Regions from separate parts of the Homo sapiens genome. Here regions 2, 3 and 4 are each linked to region 1. Evidence: promoter capture Hi-C in 16 types of primary human blood cells and fetal thymus (Javierre and others, 2016). All regions are on one chromosome and are shown on one strand. The core of a region is centred on a gene start or on the middle of the fragment in contact, and the rest is flanking DNA. Distances in the headings are between cores, read along the strand shown. Region 1 holds the start of KRT32 (keratin 32). Region 2 overlaps LOC107985072 (a long non-coding RNA gene). Region 3 overlaps LOC105371777 (a long non-coding RNA gene). Region 4 overlaps LOC105371776 (a long non-coding RNA gene).

Region 1 (3,041 bases), core at 62-2,561:
GCCCCCCGACTGAACTCACTTGGCCCTGAAGTCATCGGCAGCCAGTTTGGCATTATCAATGTTCACAACCATCCTGGCATTCTCTGCCTTGGTACACAGAATCTGTAGGCCAAGGCACATGGAGAGGGTTAGTTCAGGATGAGACGAAGCAAGAAGAACCCAAATGAAGAGAAGACAGCAGCAAAGGTAGGATCCAGCAGCCCTGCAGCCATCCCTGCAGAAGGTCCTCTTCCCTGGAACTCTGGGAGATATTTAGCGAATTGCTAGTCCTTGGAGAACTTGAGATGTATTTTTTAAGAACCTGAAGCTTCGTAAATTCAAATTCCCCATTTTGGATGTGCCAAGCAATGTGGAAGGGAAGAATCTCATGTCTGAAGTCACTCATGTGACAGTTAGAAGGGTCTTTGACATTTACTGAAAACTTACCGTGGACCAGGGGCTGTTCCAAGCACTTGACCTGCATCATCTCATCAAATCCTTTTGACAACCCCATTAGATAACGACCATTATTATCCCTGTTTTACAGATGAGAAAACTGAGGCCTGGGGAAGGGATGGGACCCCCAAAGTCATGCAATGAGGCAATGGTAGAACTGAGACTAGATCCCAGATCTCTCCACATGAAAGCCTCAGGCTGAGTGCTCAAATTATAAAATAACCCTATGCCCTAGGGAAGTCTCTTTGTCCTGAACATAGCTTAATAAGCTAACGAGATTCCAATCTGGAATGCCAGCTAGTCCAGTTCCCTTCCCAGAGAGCCTATTCACCTCACCGCTGCCCTCACCTTCTGCTGGAGCTCCTCAATGGTCCTGAAATGAGACTGGTAGTCAGGAGTCATGGTGAGCACCTGGGAGTGAGAGGCCTCTTGGATCCTGCTCTCCAGCTCCGCATTCTCCTGCTCCAGCTGCCGCACCCTCGTCAGGTAGCTGGCCAGGCGGTCGTTAAGGAACTGCATGGTTTCCTTCTCATTGCCATTGAAGGCCCCTTCGCTGTACCAGCTGCCGGGGCCCATGGAGCCGGAGATGCCACTGGCTGCCTGGCAGGAACTGGATAGATAGGTTTTGGAGAGGCAGCTGGCTGGCCGGAAGGTGGTGGGCAGGCAGACCGAAGGCAGGCATGCCATGGGCTGGCAGACATAGCCCAGGCACAGCTCAGGCCGGCAGTTCACGCCGCTGGAACAGACCGAGGCAGGCCGGGGGCAGCTCTTGAGAGAGGCTTGCAAGTTGTTGGTGACACAGCAGGAGGATGTCATGTTGGAGAGGCCCTTTCTCCTCAGCCACAGCTACCTGGATGTCTACAGACCCCATGCCGCCCGGGCCATTTTATGCCCTTGCAGTGAGGGGGCTCATGATAGAAATTCATCATTGGGTGGTGTTGATGTTCACACCCAGCCCCAGAGGAAGCTGCTAATTAATTTGTAATTTGGTTTCCAATAAAAGAGGCCAAACTTATCATTTGGCTAAAGCAGGAGTCTGGGTTCCTGTCATTGATCACCATGAGAGAGCTTCAGGACACATCTTCAAAGGGTCAGCCGCATGCCTGGGCCCTCATTACTAGGGCAGGCCCTCCAGGAGACTGCCACAACCCAGCCTGTGCCTCCACTGGCTTTGCCCACTGCACCCCCGCCTGCTCTAGCCCTGAGAAGCCTGCAGGTCTGTGCAGCAGTGGCTGCCTCTTTTAATGAAAGCATTCCCCATGGGAAGAGGCCTGGCTATTTAACAAGGAAATGTGTGGGTGGTAGAAACTGCTCCGATGCTGGCAGCGGCATAAATCCAGCAGAAAGGAACAGGAACCTCAGAGGCTTCCTAACAGACATCATCTTCCTGCCAAGGGGAAGAAAATAATATCAGTGGGGAGAGAATGAACTCAAGACATAGGCAGCATCACTTCTCAGCCTTTTGGCTAAGATCAAGTGTGGTATCTGTTCTTATCGTCTTAATATCTGATACGTCCTCCATCTGAGGACAACATATTAAATGGATTTTGGGAGCAGGGAGATGGAATAAGAGCTTGCTCTGTTCACTCTACATGTTGACCTGGTATTGCAGTACCTCCAGGAATGCTGCACCCCTTCAAAAGGCAAAAAAAAAAAAAAAAAAAAGACCCAAACAGAAGCCTAAGAATCAGGTACATCTTTCCAGTTGGTCTCTTCCTCTTGGAAAAGTCCATATCATGAACATCTCCAGGTGGCAGCTGCTCTGTCTTGACCCCCTCTGGACCATCCATTCAATTATCACTGCACCATATACACAATTGTCAAGTGCTCAATAATTGTTTGTTGAACAGACTGAGAATAGTTGGAACAGGTTCTACTTTTACTTTCTGTTGTGGCAGATGGGGAAGGCTCACTTCAGGATCTCAGACTATGGAAGCAGTGTGAATCCACTCCCTTGGGAAAGGATGTTCTATAGCCCTGGAATGAGCTAAGCCAGGAGACAGGGAGCATATTTGCCCAACTATAGAAGCCCTGGGCATTCACTTAAGAAGGCAACATGCTAGAGCAGTGGTTTTCAGTCCTGGCTGCAAAAGCTGTGAGCTTCACATTTAGTATGTGTGTGCTATATAGCCACTTTTTTATTCAGTAATCTTCTTGATATAATTTTGGGGTATAAGTACTTGCCTTATGTTTCACATATTCCCAGAAATGTCAGTACAAGAACAGGAAAGGGAAAATGCCACCCAGCTCATTCATTGCATAAGAAAAGGAGAGCGTAGATATACTGCCTCTGACTTGCCATTTGGCCTTGGGAAAGTAATTTTGTCTCTCCAGACCTCAGTTTCTTCATGCCAATCGAGGGGGTCAGATCAAATACTCTCACAATTTGATTCTCTGCAACAACTACAAATTCCAGTACCTTGTCTGGATTACCTATTTAGAGAAGATTATAGCATCAGATGGAAGGAGGTGTGATGGCAATACCAACTACAAGGGATGAGACTCATCAGGCCACCCTTCAGAATCATAGCCAGCACTTGTGGAATGTATACAAATACCAGGCATGGTGCTGAGTGCTTGGCATTAATTTGCCCATTTAATCCTCT
Region 2 (3,351 bases), core at 846-3,345, 520 kb before region 1:
TTCCCCTCCCTCTCTCTGTTTCCTTTGGTGTGGGAGGAAGAATAATGGTCCCCGAAGGATGCCCAGGTCCTAATACCCAGAGCCTGTGAATAGCTGATGTTACTTGGCAAAAAGGTAATTAAAGTCACAAGTAGAATTAAGGTTGCTAATCAGCTGGCCTTAAAATAGGGAGAGTATCCTGAATTATTCAGGTGGGCCCAAGATAATCATAATGTCTTTAAAAGTGGAAGAGGGGCTGGGCACGGTGGCTCACGCTTGTAATCTCAGCACTTTAGGAGGCCGAGGTGGGTGGATCACGAGGTCAAGGGTTCGAGACCAGCCTGACCAACATGGTGAAACCCTGTCTCTACTAAACGAACGAACAAACAAACAAACAAAAAACCCCACAAAAATTAGCTGGGCATGGTGGCACATGCCTGCATGCCTGCATGCCTGCACACCTGTAATCCCAGCTACTCCGGAGGCTGAGGCAGGAGAATGGCTTGAACCTGGGAGGTGGAGGTTGCAGTGAGCCAAGATCGCGTCACTGCACTCCAGCCTGGGTGACAGAGCAAGACTCCGTCTCAAAAAAAAAAAAAAAAAGGTGGAAGAGGGAAGTAGAAGATTCAGTCAGTGTTGGCGAAGGAGATGTGATGAAGGCAGAGTTAAGGGTGACGAGATGGCTGATGGTGAAGATGGAAATGGTGGACAAGCCCAGGAATGTGAGCAGCCTCTGAAAGCTGGAAAAGTTTGGCAATAAAACAAATCCCCCCCAGGACCTCCAACACTTTGATTTTAGTACACTGAGTCCCAAGTCAGATTTCTGAAATAGAGAACAGTAAGATAGTACATTCGTGTTTTGTGTTATTTTGAGCCATGAAATGCATGTCACTTTGTTACAGTGGCAGTAGAACATCGTAGTGTCTGTGTGTTTGTGGGGGAAACATCCAGTAGGAACTCTGGTGATGGATTTTTGCTGAAGATTTGCCAGGTCTGTCCTGCAGACCCTGGCCGAGCGTCGGATGAAGGGAGTACTGACAACACAGGCGTGCAGTGTAAGAGCAGCTAGGGGTCTGCCGGCACTTAGGGCCAAAGAAGAGAGCAGCTGCGAACAGCTGAAGCTGCTTGCTTTTATTCAGTACAGACATAATGCCGAAAGCCTGGAGCAAACACAATCTGCGGGTAATTAACATTATTGTTCCCCTTTTCAGGGAGCAGTCATGTGCACAGATTATCAAAGGTCGGTTTCTGGACAACCTAAGTAAACAAGCCTGTTTACGATAAATTCCCCTACACCTCCTTGTACCTACTCCTTGCCCTCTGCCTCAGGATCAGAGAACAGCTGCCTTCAGCTTATTCTCCCCTGAAGCTATGCAGAGCCTTCTGAACTTTCAGAAGGTTTGCATCCTTTCCCTATAGTTTCTCCCACCACTCTGACCAATCTCCTACAAAGATTAAATCAAGGTGAATAGAATGTGTTTTCCATGTGATTTATAAAACATATTTTCCATACACATACTTAGTCTAGATCTTTAATTATTAGCGTAACAGCAAAGATGGTTATAGTTACTATATTTCATAAACCCTAAAAAGGCAAATTATAGGTGGATTTTTAAATTTTCAAATTAATATATATGATATACCTCAGAAAATTATAGAATTTAAATCACATTTAATTAAACATTTTACAAATAATTTTTACGGAGAAGCATAAAATTACATAAAAGGAAGGCTGTTCCTGAAGATCCACGGCACGTGGGAACCATCATTAGGGCAAATGTGAATATGTGTCTTTTATTTACAACCAAAGCCTATTTCCCTCCTGATCTCACCCTTTGTCCACAGCTCGTCTTTCATCCTTAATTATTATTTACTACATAGTCTTTGTGTCATTACTACAAAGAGACGGTGCTGTAACTGGGACGCTGGACACGGTCCCTGCAATCTTAGTCCCACTGTACATTCTGTTCCATGTAAGTGAGCTCCAAATGACCTCTTGGTTCTTCTTACTCTGCAGCCACAAAAACATATCCATTTTGCTCCTTTCTCTTTCTTATTTTGTCTATTTCTCCCAGTGCCTCTCCTGAATACACTAATATAGCATCTTCTGTTTTTTTCTGAACCCAACACGTTTGATTTCATTTCTGATTACCATCCCTCTAATTATAATTTGTAGCCTTTCTTAAAAGGGACCCTGTGGGGGTGGGGGGGGGCAGTGGGTGTGGTTGCTCACACCTGTAATCCCAGCACTTTGGGAGGCCAAGGCAGGTGGATCATCTGAGGTCAGGAGTTCGAGACCAGCCTGACCAACGTGGAGAAACTCTGTCTCTACTAAAAAAAAAAAAAAAAACCACAATTGTCTGGGCATGGTGGCGCATGCCTGTAATCCTAGCTACTTGGGAGGCCAAGGCAGGAGAATCACTTGAACCCAGGAGGTGGAGGTTGCGGTGAGCCGAGATCGTGCCATTGCACTCCAGCCTGGGCAACACGAGCAAAACTCTGTCTCAAAAAAAAAAAAAGAAAAAAAATGGAATCCTGGGGGTGGACTTTGGATATTTCATCCTATCAGCCTTGTGTCCTGTTACTCTTGGGATGGGTCAAAACCAGGAAGTCCCCTGCAGCTTTGGCAGCCCACAATTGCTGATGAAGCCACAAATTGTTGGAAACATGAATATCCGGCATTCATTGTTTTGAGCCTATGCTCGCCATGAATATGAACTAGTTAGAAATGAGACCTACACTTTCCCAATGCTTCTCCATTCAAGACCTCTTGGCTTTATATCTAGTAGAGCAGGGCTATACTGTGCCAATCTTCTAGCAATAAACTTCACACAAATCCAACAGCCTAATTGTTGTGGTTAGAATGAGAAGAGATGAAGATGCTGTTGAGTTAGGTCATCTGGTCTCCAAAGCAGAACTTCACAAGGTGATACTTTCTTGTGAAGTCACAGTGGTCTATGTCTGTTCTTAGGCTGGTGGGTTATTAGTGCACCAGAACCAAAGGGATTCTCAGGAGCTGACTCAGAGTAACCTGACTTTTAAGTGCCAGATGAAAGAGACAGAATGCAAACTTATTAATTTAACATTGAAAGATGATCCATTTTGCAACCACAGAGTTCCCAACTGCAAATCAATGCACCTTCTTTGTTGTACCTAAGAATTAGAGAAACCAAATTGTAATATGAAGGCTTTTGTCAAAAATGGAACTAGAAGAGGGATATGGGGTCTTGAGGAATGAGGTTGAAAAACTGCCTCAAGTCCACACGTGCTTAGATGGTGTTCATGAGTTCAGTGTTGCCCCTTCCTGGATTGGGCTGGACACTGTTGTGTTGTGTTTTTAGGGCTCACTTTCTCTTTTTAAAATATTTTCTT
Region 3 (3,228 bases), core at 14-2,513, 560 kb before region 1:
AGAGTATGACATGATCTGGCAATTATTAACCTGGGGAAGTGAAGAGTGAAAGAAGAAGCAATCGAGCCACATGTTATCTCTGTAAATGGTGAAGTGACTCACCCTAGGGCTCACCAGGAACAGGAAGATGTCGTTTCTTTCTTGCCTCCAAGTGGCAAGCAGGGACTGTGTGTCCTTCATTCATAGCTGCTTGAGAATCAATTACAATAGGTGGGATGCTGTGATAGCCAATAGGGTTCAGAAATCAAGACACAGTCCATGATTCCGAGGAGGCGGCAGCCTAGCCGGAGACGGTGACTAATCGGGAATTATATATAATGTTCACGAAAAGATTTGTGGATATAGAGGAAGGATCCCCAAGTAAAGCTGGGTGGGAGGGAGTCATTGAAGTTTTCCTGAAAGTGCAGAGTTTGAGGGAGAGTCCAAGCTGGAAAAGCACAGGGACATGGAGGTGGCCCACGCATCCCTAAAGTGCAGCGATGAGTAACTGGTGGATAAGTCACAGCCCATAAATCTCAGAATTCATCCATTCACTCCACAAATATTTACTCAGTACCTGCTGAGGGCCTGGCACTGTTCTAGGCCATGAGGATACTTCCGTGAGCAAGACAAACACAAATTCCTGCTGACAAGGCTTCATTCTAGCAAAGGGATATAAACCCCATACAGATAATATATATGTAAATTATAAGACAATGTGATGTAATCACACTGGAAAGGTAGAGAAATGGCAACCGGAGGTGTGAGATGGTGTAAGAATCCTGTGATGCCATCTTCTACAATGGGGATTTAGGTCTTTAATGTCTTCTTTTTTTTTTTTTTTTTTTTTTTGAGACGGAGTCTCGCTCTGTCGCCCAGGCTGGAGTGCGGTGGCGTGATCTCGGCTCACTGCAAGCTCCACCTCCTGGGTTCACGCCATTCTCCTGCCTCAGCCTCCCGAGTAGCTGGGACTACAGGTGCCCATCACCTCGCCCGGCTAATTTTTTTTTGTATATTTAGTAGAGACGGGGCTTCACCGTGTTAGCCAGGATGGTCTCCAACTCCTGACCTCGTGATCCGCCCACCTCGGCCTCCCAAAGTGCTGGGATTACAGGCGTGAGCCACCGTGCCCGGTCTTTAACGTCTTAAGTTGATAAAACAAGAAATAGCAGTGTAAGCATATTCCTTAGAGATATGCAGGTTAATACCAGAAACAATAGCTAAAAGATTTCAGAGAGAAACATTCAGGAGTGGGGACACCAGGGGCTGCTATTTTTTACTATGAACCTTGTATAGTATATGATGTATTCATTCATTCACTCACGCATTCATTCATGAATTCACAAGTCTGTGTGAATATCAGTGTGTGCAAGGTTTTGTTGCAGATGCTGGGGATACAGTAGTTAAAAAAACACAAACGTTTCTGCCCTGGCGGAACTTAGATTCAGGGGTGGGAGCTAGAGGTGAAGGGAGTAGGTCAGAGGAGAAAAAGGAAGGGTGGGGAGGGCTGGGAAAGTTGCCCTTGTGTGTAGAGAGATGAGAATGGGCCTCCCTGTGAGAGTGGTATTTGAATGACAGCAGGAAGAAAAGAGCCATATGGCAGCTCAGGTGCAAAGGTCTATAGCAGTTTAGGTGTGAGTGTGGGTGGAGCAGTGGGGATGTGGGGGTGCTCAGGGATGGAAGGGAGGGTGGTGGAAAGGACCTCAGCAATTCGGAGGTGAATGGTGAGGGATGTGGATGCCATCATCCAGCAAGGAACCTGCCTTTTACTCTGTGATATGAGAAGCCACCGAACTTTGGCGATGGAGTAATTCCTTATATCTTTAAAAAGAGGCACAAAGACCACACCTCATAAATACTGACATCATATTAACAGAATAGATAATACACCACTTTTTCAAATGTATCTTTTTTTCTTTTAATCGCTGAGAGGGAAAAGTAGTATCAGTGGCAGCACACACACACACACACACACACACACACGGAAGAAATGGAAATAAAAGCTAAAGAACAAACTAGTAATGATTCGGAGTGAGACCCCTAACACCTCCCGAATGGGGGCAAGAAGCTCAGGACTCTGGTAGCCCAGGCAGAGTCTGAGTAACTGGCGTTGCCTCTCTTCATGCATCTACCTGATCCACCTGTCCTTCTACCCACCCCTCTGATCCCTAGGAATTCTGAGAGCCTGGTATCACCCAGGTACAAGATGAAGAAGTCTATTGTCCCCTAGAGGGTAAATGGCAAGAGGTGCAGTTTAGGAGGATTCTCAGTCTGGGAGGAGAAGCTAGCTGAGAGCTTGCCACAGATGTAAGCAGGAACGCCCGGCTGAAGTGGGAACGAGGCAGAGGCTGGAAGACACAGCAGAGTGCTGTGCAACAGATGCCGCCTGGCAGACATGGTGCTCTCATCACAAGAGACTGTTATTTGGTACTGAAGTAGCCTTCACATTCCATAGAAAAATGTCTTTCTATTTTTTATATTATACTTTAAGTTCTGGGGTACAGGTGCAGAACATCCAGGTTTGTTACATAGGTATTGATGCGCCATGGTGGTTTGCTGCACGCATCAGCCTGTCATCTACATTAGATATTTGTCCTAATGCTCTCCTCCCACAGCCCTCCACGCCCCGACAGTCCCCAGTATGTGATGCGCCTCCCACCCCCCGTGTCCATGTGTTCTCACTGTTCAACCCCAACTTATGAGAGAGAACACACGGTGTCTGGTTTTCTGTCCTTGTGTTAGTTTGCTGAGAATGATGCTTTCCAGCATCATCTATGTCCCTGCAAAGGACATGAACTCATCCTTTTTTATGACGGCATAGTATTCCATTGTGTATCTGTGCCACATTTTCTTTATCTGGTCTATCATTGATGGGCAATTGGGTTGGTTCCAAGTCTTTGTTATTGTGAACAGTGCTGCAATAAACATATGTCTGCATATGTCTTTATAGCAGAATGATTTATAATCCTTTGAGTATATACCTAGTAATGGGATTGCTGAGTCAAATGGTATTTCTGGTTGTAGATCTTTGAGGAATCGCCACACTGTCTTCCACAATGGTTGAACTAATTTACACTCCCACCAACAGTATAAAAGCGTTCCTAAGAAAAATGCCTTTCAATCCTTTACCTTATTCCATGATCACCAATTTTCTGATACCTAATTCAGTGTGCAGGCACATTGATTCCAAGACAGGTTCATGGTATAATGGCAAAACAACAGCAAGACAACTTCCATTGTAAATGAACG
Region 4 (3,405 bases), core at 906-3,405, 650 kb before region 1:
AAAACAAAAACTGAGTAAGCTCTGTAGTTAAACAGTGATGTACCAATGCCAATTTTTAAATTTTAGATATTATACCCTAGCCTATAGAAGATGTCTCTATTTGGGGAAGGTGAGTCAGGAGTACACTGGACTCTACTATTTTTGCAATTTCCAACGAGTCTATAATTATTTCAAAATTTAAAAAATGTGATTACACATTTTTTTCTGCTTTTTTTTTACTACTTATATGGATGTTTAAGACACTCATTTGGATTATTTCTAGTATGTTTGTTATGGGTTTAATAGTTTATCATTTACTGAATAAACCTTACTTTCTTAGGGTTTAGATTCTTCCTTTATCATACACTAATGTCCATTTATATATAATCATTTCCTACACTCTTAGTTCCAGTGATGAATTAAATTGTGCTTCAGTTTCTTCATCTGTAAAATGGAGATAATAATAGTATATATGTCATAGAGTTCATTCCTTCAAAAACGATATTTTTGGTACCTAACCTGTGTTAGTCACTGTTCTAGTGCCTCAGGATACATGAATGGATAAAGTAGACGAAGATCAAGCGTTGTCTTTCTGGAGTGTACCGTCTAGCAGGGGAAAAGGATGACTAATAATGAATACATTGTATAGTAAGTTGGAAACAGTGCTGTGAAAAAAAGAAAAAGTGGAAAACCTAGGCAATACCATTCAGGACACAGGCATGGGCAAAGACTTCATGACTGAAAAACCAAAAGCAATGGCAACAAAAGCCAAAATTGACAAATGGGATCTAATTAAACTAAAGAGCTTCTGCACAGCAAAAGAAACTATCATCATGGTGAACAGGCAACCTACAGAAAGGGAGAAAATTTTTGCAATCTACCCATCTGACAAAGGGCTAATATCCAGAATCTACAAAGAACTTAAACAAATTTACAAGAAAAAAACAACCCCATCAAAAAGTGGACAAAGGAAATGAACAGACTTCTCAAAAGAAGACGTTTATGCAGCCAACAGACATATGAAAAAATGCTCAACATCACTGGTCATCAGAGAAATGCAAATCAAAACCACAATGAGATACCATCTCACACCAGTTAGAATGGCGGTCATTAAAAAGTCAGGAAACAACAAATGCTGGAGAGGATGTGGAGAAATAGGAACGCTTTTACACTGTTGGTGGGAGTGTAAATTAGTTCAACCATTGTGGAAGACAGTGTGGCAATTCCTCAAGGATCTAGAACTAGAAATACCATTTGACCCAGCGATCCCTTTACTGGGTATACATCCAAAGGATTATAAATGATGCTACTATAAAGACATATGCACACGTATGTTTATTGTGGCACTATTCACAATAGCAAAGTCTTGGAACCAACCTAAATGTCCAGCAATGATAGACTGGATTAAGAAACTGTGGCACATATACACCAGGGAATACTATGCAGCCATAAAAAAGGATGAGTTCATGTCCTTTTCAGGGATATGGATGAAGCTGGAAACCATCATTCTGAGCAAACTATCACGAGGACATAAAACCAAATACCACATGTTCTCACTCATAGGTGGGAGTTGAACAATGAGAACACATGGACACAGGGTGGGGAACATCACACACCTGTTGTGGGGTAGAGGGCTGGGGGAGGGATAGAATTAGGGGAAATACCTAATGTAAATGACGAGTTAATGGGCGCAGCCAACCAACATGGCACACGTATAACTACGTAACAAACCTGCACATTCTGCACATGTACCCTAGAACTTAAAGTATAATAATAATAAAAAAAGTGGAGCAGATAGGGGAGTTGGGAGATTGGCAGGTAAAATTTTAAGCGGAAAATCAGAGTGGGTCTCAAAGAAAAAGTGACAACTGTGCAAAGGCTTGAAGGAGGTAAGGAAGACCATCTTGTTAAAGAATATTAACCAAGGTAACATCAAAAGAGAAATGGAGAGACATCAAAGAATTTTGATCAAATATAATTAGACTTACAATTTGATCTAATATATTAGACTTACATTTTAAAAGGATAACTATGGTTCTGTGTTGAAAATAAACTGTAGGGTAGTAGCTAAGCTTAAATGAGTTCATATACATGTTATATGTACTGAGTCTACCTACCTATCTGTATCTATCTATCTATCTATCTATCTATCTATCTATCTAATCTATCTATCTATCCATCCACACATTTACCCACCTACCTACCTATCTATCCATCCATCATTTACTCAGAACAATGCCCGGTGTGATTTAAAGGCTATTATTATCATTATTTTCATTGTCAAGCTTAGTTTAACCACAACTACCTCATATAAGGTAGCTATCCCTTATTGTATAGGTAAGTAAACAGACTCAGAAGGGTTGAAGTAACTTGTCCAAAGGTACATAATTTGTAAATGCCAGTGCCAGGATAGGAAGTCCAGGGATCACTGTGTTTCAGTTGCATGCTCATAAACCATGAATAAGCTCTTTCCCTAATTCCCATTCTCAAAATGCAATATAGATGAGAAATATTAGATGCATCCTATTTAACCTTAATCGAGTTACTTCCCTGATAAAGATGACCCTAACAAAGCTATTTCTTCACTCCCAAGCAAAATATCAAGCCATCATGGGCACCAAGATTAGGGTGCAAAGCTTTTAGGCCTTTAGCATCATAAGAGAACATCTTTGGGGAAACAGGATTTTATCGTGTAATATTTTTTGACATGGGTGCCGAATTGGCTCTGCCAATCTAATTAGGCACTACCCTGCTTAAATAGCAGGATTCTGTAATGACTTTAGAATCTGTAAGAATGCATACAGAATTTTTTGATTAATAGGTACATGCAAATTTATTTGGTAAAAATAGTGCCCTGTGCTATTTAATAATTTTTAAAAATAATTCTGTAATTTTTTTTACTATAAATACCAATGTCCTTATTAAAGACAAGTGGCTTATTTAGACAGATTATCTTTATTAAACCATAGTGTTGGGCACTGCGGCATGTGCCTATAATCCCAGCTACTCAGAGACTGAGGTGGGAGGATTGCTTGAGCCCAGTTCAAGACTAGCATGGGCAACACAGTGAGACTTTGTCTCATTAAAAAAAAAAAAAAAAAAGCAAAAACAAACCATAGTTATCCAAGTCCAATCAAGAAAGCAGCTGTTTATCTGAGATAAAGTATTTACTTTATCAGAGAGAATATAAATAATTGTTTAAGGAGGTATTGCAAGATTGAAATGGTAAGAAGACAGGACCACGATGTATGCAGACTTTTCAGGAATGAAAGTTTGGGTCACCATCCAACCACATAGAGGACTCTGACTGCTAAGATTGTGGCCTGGGGGAGGAGGGCAGAATGGGTAGAAGAGACAAACTTAACAGCAAGCACTGCTATCTCATAGTAACATATGTGTACTTGCCTCGTATCAGTGGTATTGAAT

Evidence for each region. Contacts are between HindIII fragments. The CHiCAGO score rates a contact against its expected background, and 5 or more counts as called.
Region 2: a fragment that was not itself captured here is called in contact with the fragment with the promoter of KRT32 in region 1 in 9 of 17 cell types (naive CD4 T cells, naive CD8 T cells, total B cells and 6 more); the score reaches 10.3 in naive CD4 T cells.
Region 3: a fragment that was not itself captured here is called in contact with the fragment with the promoter of KRT32 in region 1 in 3 of 17 cell types (neutrophils, endothelial precursors and total B cells); the score reaches 7.3 in neutrophils.
Region 4: a contact is called between a fragment that was not itself captured here and the fragment with the promoter of KRT32 in region 1, in 1 of 17 cell types (M0 macrophages). The highest score is 6.7, in M0 macrophages.

Annotation. Positions count from the first base shown.
Region 1 is chr17:41,466,075-41,469,115 of GRCh38, forward strand. It overlaps KRT32 (keratin 32), which reads right to left and starts at 1,312. Exons shown (of 7, transcript NM_002278.3): 1 at 784-1,312; 2 at 20-102. The coding sequence starts at 1,251. It also overlaps the pseudogene RNU2-32P. The HindIII fragment of the contact is 3,316 bases long and covers 306-3,041 here.
Region 2 is chr17:40,948,466-40,951,816 of GRCh38, forward strand. All of the region lies in intron 1 of LOC107985072 (a long non-coding RNA gene), which reads left to right. Among named protein-coding and RNA genes, the nearest start is that of KRT23, 12 kb to the left of the region's middle. The HindIII fragment of the contact is 4,385 bases long and covers 1-3,351 here.
Region 3 is chr17:40,903,239-40,906,466 of GRCh38, forward strand. All of the region lies in intron 1 of LOC105371777 (a long non-coding RNA gene), which reads left to right. Among named protein-coding and RNA genes, the nearest start is that of KRT20, 20 kb to the left of the region's middle. The HindIII fragment of the contact is 4,098 bases long and covers 1-3,228 here.
Region 4 is chr17:40,813,429-40,816,833 of GRCh38, forward strand. It overlaps LOC105371776 (a long non-coding RNA gene), which reads left to right. Exons shown (of 4, transcript XR_934753.2): 4 at 520-700. Among named protein-coding and RNA genes, the nearest start is that of KRT10-AS1, 4.0 kb to the right of the region's middle. The HindIII fragment of the contact is 213 bases long and covers 2,050-2,262 here.